Regions from separate parts of the Homo sapiens genome. Here region 1 is linked to region 2. The links are contacts of gene promoters, found by promoter capture Hi-C in blood cells and fetal thymus (Javierre and others, 2016). All regions are on one chromosome and are shown on one strand. Each heading gives the region's core, a stretch centred on a gene start or on the middle of the fragment in contact. The rest is flanking DNA. Distances are from core to core; before and after follow the strand shown.

Region 1 (3,134 bases), core at 230-2,729, 2.6 Mb before region 2:
TTATCAAGCTATTCTTATTAGAGACTAAGGACACGAGAATACACAGACCCAAAAATCTCATCCGAAAAGATCTATTTCTTACTTCTGATAGATAAGAACAAGATAGGATAAAGCTCAATTTCTAAGCAACTTAAAATATTCATTTTAATCAACCCAAAAATTATAACATAAAATAATAGGCAGGTAGGATGGGATAAACTCACCAAGCTCCCTAAGAGAAAGACATGGATTTCAATTTTCCAATACCTGTCCTGCTTGTAGCTGATTGCCTGGTATACATTTCCAACATTATCTAATGTATGTATTTGTTTTCAAACTTTTTTCTTTTGGTGCCTAAAATAACTGGCAAATGCTATAATCCAAACAGGGCCTCATACTATAGCCATTTCAGAGAAGGATGCCTTGGTCAGGAAATTTTAATTAAAAACCAAGCTGAATTCTTTGACCAACTATTTCACCGTTACTGGCATCTTGGAAAAATTCTTTTAGACATAAGAACAACTTTTACCCTAACACAGGCACATTTAGGAACTAACTCTGGCATTTGTTATCACTGTAAGCATCACTGTCAACACTCTAAGCAGAGAAAAAGTACATGCATTGTGCAGCACTTTTGCCATGCAACTGACTGCAGGTAAAACAGACAGTAGTTTCCTGAGTGAATTCCAATCTCGGAGGCTACCAAGCTCGTTCTCTTCTGAATATTCCTAAAGAAGCAAAGAGCTCTGAGAAGTTAAAAATATTTCATGCCAGAAAGGTCCAGAAGTGGAATTGCACAAATCTGTTTTCAAACCCCTCACAAGTATACTGCAACTGCAACTCAGTCAGGTGCCATCAAGGATGGTCACTGGAAAAAAAATTGCATTTCCTGACCAACACACTAACCCATACATTTCCTGTATACTTACACTCTTTCCTAAAGAAATTTCCCAAACAGAAATAAAGCAAAAGGAAGCCCTTGCAATATAATATACCTGTCCCACAAATTTATCTTTAAAATGCAACCTCTTCCCTCCAAAATATAATAAAAATAACATCAGTGGGATTTTGCGATGTACTGAATTTAGTAGTAAGAATACTCTTTGGGGTTACTTCCTTTAACAAAGCTTACTGGCCATTGGAGAAGCTGTTTTCCGTTTGTACTGAAGCAATAGAAAAAAATATTTGCCAAATCAGTTTCACTTTCTGTTAGAGTTAGCCTAACTTCCTAACTCTCTTCTCAGTATCTTACATTTCTCATGTAGTAAGGCCTATATATTGTAGTGACATTATAAAACATACATGAATGTTTTTATATTAGGATCCACAGAACCCTTTTCAAATAACTTTTTCAACATCTTCTGTAGTCCTGAATACCTAAGTATTTGGTTGTTCACAGTCCACATCTTTTTTTAAACCTTTTTTCTAAGGCAAAACTTAAGAATAGCTCCCTCTTAAATTTTAAAAAATATATTTATTATCCATATTAAATATTGAGAAGTAAGCAGATGCATTCACAGAGGGGAAAAAATGGAATCCTTTTTACCCTACACAGTCACAATAGTTGTTTGATATACTATAAAATTTGTTTATAACATATCTGCTTTTTCTCTCCATGCTGTTGTAATTACATTGTGCAGAGTAATATTTAGAAATATCAACAAATAGATGTGTTAAATTAAAAACAAAGTGTCAAACCAACTTCCTTTGCCTACCCCCAAAATCAAAAGGAAAAATCCTAGGCACCTTAACAGCAAACTAAAAACATCTAGACAAAACAATGAGATTAGCATTCCAGGAAAGCAGAAACATTATAATAATTTAATAACAAATTTATATCAACGATCATATGGATGAAAATTTTGAAAAGCAGAAAGCTTTCAAGAACTGCGAGCCAAAATTTCACCAAAAAAACAAACAAACAAACAAACAAACAAAAAAAACACAACTTTCTCTTACTGGGAAGTCAGTATAATTTCAATTCAAAGGATAATTCTGCAAAGGAAGGCTAAACGATCCTTACCCTCCAGCTCTGATCAAGCCCTAGCACAGATTTTACAACTGGAGACTTGCAGGGAAAAAAAAAGTTTTCAACAGACTAGGCCCCAAACATGAAGGATAAAAGTAAATGTGAAAAAGGAATTCAATTTTCAAATATATGCATAAGTATATGAGAATACTTCAAGGATAAATAAAATAAAACAAATTATCTTTAATGACTATTACCCAGGGATAATTTTTAAGACTTTTGGAACAACTACATCCCCGGATTTTATGGAAATATCAGCTCTCAATAAATAAGTTTTCTTAATGCCTATCTGCTTAGACAACCTGCACAATCTTTGCTTGCTCTAATGAAGAGCAGGTATAACTGAGATGGCTTGCCTTTACCCTGTGGTTATCAAGTTCTTATACCAGAGGTATCAAAGTGACATCCTGCAAATTCTAACAAGCCCCCAAACAGTTGTTCCACACATCATTTTAAAAATCAGAAAAATAACATAAAGTTTTAGATTTCTAATCTTTCTTAAAAAATAGGAAGATCGGCTGGGCGTGGTGGCTCATGCCTGTAATCCCAGCACTTTGGGAGGCCGAGGCTGGCAGATCACGAGGTTAAGAGATCGAGACCAGCCTGGCCAACATGGTGAAACCCCGTCTCTACTAAAAATACAAAAATTAGCTGGGTGTGGTGGCACGCGCCTGTAGTCCCAGCTATTCGGGAGGCTGAGGCAAGAGAATCGCTTGAACCCAGGAGGCGGAGGTTGCAGTAAGCCGAGATAGCGCCATTGCACTCCAGCCTGGTGACAGAGTGAGACTCTGTCTCAAAAATAAATAAATAAAATAAAATTAAAAATAGGAAGATCTGGCAATACTGACCCTTCACTCCTACTAACAAACCACTGGAGTTCAGTAGTGCTGACTTTTTAGAAGAGGCACTGCTCTCCAGTACCCAAGCCCTCACCTCTTCCTTCTTTATTCTTTATGGCCCTCATGGGCATTTGAACTTTTTACCCCCATTCTATACATTTCTTACTGCTCCCAACTATCAAATATTAGACACTCTGATATACTTATTTCTCTTCCCCTCGCTGATTCTGATTTATTCTGTGTGTATTCTTTTTTCCCTCAAATCTATTCATGAAACATCCATATTA
Region 2 (3,102 bases), core at 587-3,086:
GGTGTGAGTCACCAAGCCCAGCCTAGAGTGCTTGTTTCTAAGTACTATACTATATTGCCTTTTCCAAATGAATGAATGCACAAACACAGATTGGTGGTTCTCAGACTGGCCTATTCTCTTCTTGGCAATGTTGGGACTCTGGTTAAAACAATCTGTTGACCAGGAGATGCATTCTTAAAGAGCATTTCAGCCTTTTTCATTGAACTTGGAATTGCAAGGTACATACTCTTAGCCATTGAAGCTACCTGCATAGTGCGAAAATGCTGACAGGGAGGCAGATTAACTCATGGTCCCCACAAACCATCACCTCCCTCCTCAGAAAACAAGCCTCTAGGCTGTTTCCCACATCCCCTTACTGTATGTAGCTCCAGGAGTGACAACTTAGTAGGACCTGTACTTAGTTCTTTCTTCTCCTTAACCAGCAGGAATGAAAGAGACAACTATAAAAGTCCAGCTCTGGCCCGACTCCCATAACCCTGCTGAGTTGGGAATACAGCTCCTGGAATATATATATATATATATATACACACACACACACATATATATATATACACACACACACATATATATATATATATACACACATATATTTTTTTTTTTTCCAGAAAAATCCCTCTGGGGTATGAGCACTATTTTCAGTTCTGGTTCAACTTTTCATTGAGATTCTATGTGGATAAGAGGATCTTGTAGTGAAAAAAAGATAAAAAGCAGTGTTTTCATCTGAGTGTGAGAAACCATGTGTGCCTAGAGGTGGGAGAACTGAGTGTTCAGAAGGCAGAAAAAATATAACTGGAAGAGGGGCACCAGAGAAGGAAGAGAAAATAAAAATAAAAGAAGGAAAGTAGGTGACTGTGGTAAGAAATGACTGTGATCTGGCCTGGCTTCAAGTTCTATTGGGACTAAGACCGCCCACCTGGGGAAGGAGTGTGTCTGTCTATTCAGTCACTGGTCCGTCACCACTGGTGATTTACTTAGAACCAATAAGCAGGCTGCCGGTTTTACAGCCCGCTGCTGATTCACTGGGGCACTTGGCCAGCCTTGGGCTGATTGATCTATCACCTGGTCAATACCTTCCCACCATTCTCCCAGCCCTCACCGCCCCAGTACCCTAGCTCCTAACTCAGATCCCCCGTGCTCCTGCTCGCAAGGCAGGATAGAGCTCATAACCAAACACTCTTCCTTTTCACTTTTCTCCTTTACAACATCCGCCCACAGAACAAGCGATTGTAACAGCAACGAGAGAGCAAGGATGGGGCCGCAGATGTTACGATTGCTATCAGTTTCAGAGGGCGAAATGTGGAATCGCTCCTTTGTACCTCGAAGGCTGGTTTAAGGCGTGGGGAATAAGGGGAAAACAGCGTCGGGCCATATCCCATTGAAGAGTCCGAAACTCAAGCGTTTGAGGTAGCCTTACCCTCGGGATTCCCTGGAGCCAGAATCAGGGGGTGCTTAGACAAAAGAAAAACAGGCCAGGGAAAAGCAGTGTGCCCCGGACTGCCGCCCTTTCTCACCGCCTGGGGTCTCGGGTGTCCTCCTGGCACCCAGGACAGCTGGACCTCGCCTCCAACCCACCGAACTCTGGGCTCCGCCATCTTGGAGCCCCCCCAGGGGAGTTTTCCAAGAAAGCTTTGGTGGGGATTCTATGTTTCCCTCCCGCCCCGCAACAAGAATTCTCAAGAGAAGGCAATACATTTGCACAGACCTGATTTGGGGCGCAGCCATATACAGAAGGAAGGGCAGAAGGAGGAGCAACAGCGGGAACATGAGCTCAACCATCTCTGCCGGCTGCAGCGGCACCAGAGCGGGATGCTCCAGCGTTGCTCGCCGACTATGGCTTCTCTTTCTAGACACGCCCCAATTCAAATTGCGACAGCCCGGGGAGCAGACCTTCTGGGAAATGTAGTCCAGAGCTTGACAGCCTCAGGCTGGCTACGTGGGAGCGCTGCCGCCAACGCTGGCAGAAGTTGAATTATACATCGCTAATCCCCAACCATCTAGGGCTTAGGGCCTGTGGGATCATTCACCCAGCTCTCAGTTATTTTTTCTGCCTTCTGAATACTCAGTTCTCCCACCTCTAGGCACACATGGTTTCTCACACTCAGATGAAAACACTGCTTTTTATCTTTTTTTCACTACAAGATCCTCTTATCCACATAGAATCTCAATGAAAAGTTGAACCAGAACTGAAAATAGTGCTCATACCCCAGAGGGATTTTTCTGGAAAAAAAAAAGTATACACTATAGGAATAGTACACTTATTCCTATAGTGTACTAGGCACCGCGGTGTTTGTGAAATCTCTGCAGTCCTCTATCTCCCCAGACCCAAGTCCAGTGCCTGGTTCAGTTTTCCCCAATCCTGGTTAGGCAGTTACCGCACTGTTTCTCCTGGAGATCAGATGTTGGCGTCTGGGAAATGAAAGGCGGATTAGACAGGAGAGGAGCGGTCCGAAGTCTGACAGTTGGGAAGGTGGGGGAATGTAAACCCTTCCTCCTCGAGGATTCCTTTTTCCAGAGAAGAGGAAGCAATAAGTCCTTGAAGACATTCTCAGGAGAATCACTTTATTGTGTCTATCTTGAATTATGGTGGCAACTATCATGATTTTTCTAGTGTTTGAGTGTTCATTGATAATAGAATATCGTCTTCCTGATGGCTTGGGTCACATACATTAACTCCCAGGGTAGCAATGAATATCTCAGATTGGCACAGTTGGTTTTGCCAACTCGTGAAAGTATTTAATCCTGTCTTGAATTAAGGCCATGAATATGTTCTCTGTGAATAAATAGGTTCCCTGTTCAATAGTTTCTTTCATCTGAGGCCTATTTCCTGGGGGTGAAAGTGGAGGGTGTTTTAACCAATCAATATCTGTCTGTGATTCCTTAATTGTACCCAGTAATATTTTCTGGTCCTTTTGCATAATTTCCATTTGGTTAAAAGACACGGGTTCCAATGAACTAATATATTTTATAGCAAATTGGAGAAGAGAGGGTTTCCTTCACACAATACTAATTCCTACCAATTTAACATTAGATTACCTAGCAATCATCACATTTTGTCACATTCTCATTATTGTGTTACCTAATATTTGTATTGGGTTTTATAAC

What was found. The method cuts DNA at HindIII sites, captures the fragments that hold promoters and counts their contacts. A CHiCAGO score of 5 or more calls a contact.
Region 1: a contact is called between a fragment that was not itself captured here and the fragment with the promoter of RDH11 in region 2, in 1 of 17 cell types (fetal thymus). The highest score is 5.7, in fetal thymus.

What each region holds. Positions count from the first base shown.
Region 1 is chr14:65,097,646-65,100,779 of GRCh38, forward strand. All of the region lies in intron 2 of MAX (MYC associated factor X), which reads right to left. Among named protein-coding and RNA genes, the nearest start is that of MAX, 3.3 kb to the right of the region's middle. The HindIII fragment of the contact is 750 bases long and covers 1,105-1,854 here.
Region 2 is chr14:67,693,928-67,697,029 of GRCh38, forward strand. RDH11 (retinol dehydrogenase 11) reads right to left here and starts at 1,837. Exons shown (of 7, transcript NM_016026.4): 1 at 1,703-1,837. The coding sequence starts at 1,776. It also overlaps a transcript of GPHN not described here. RefSeq lists a silencer at 945-1,004 and enhancers at 1,354-1,990, 2,035-2,084, 2,105-2,154. The HindIII fragment of the contact is 2,925 bases long and covers 1,625-3,102 here.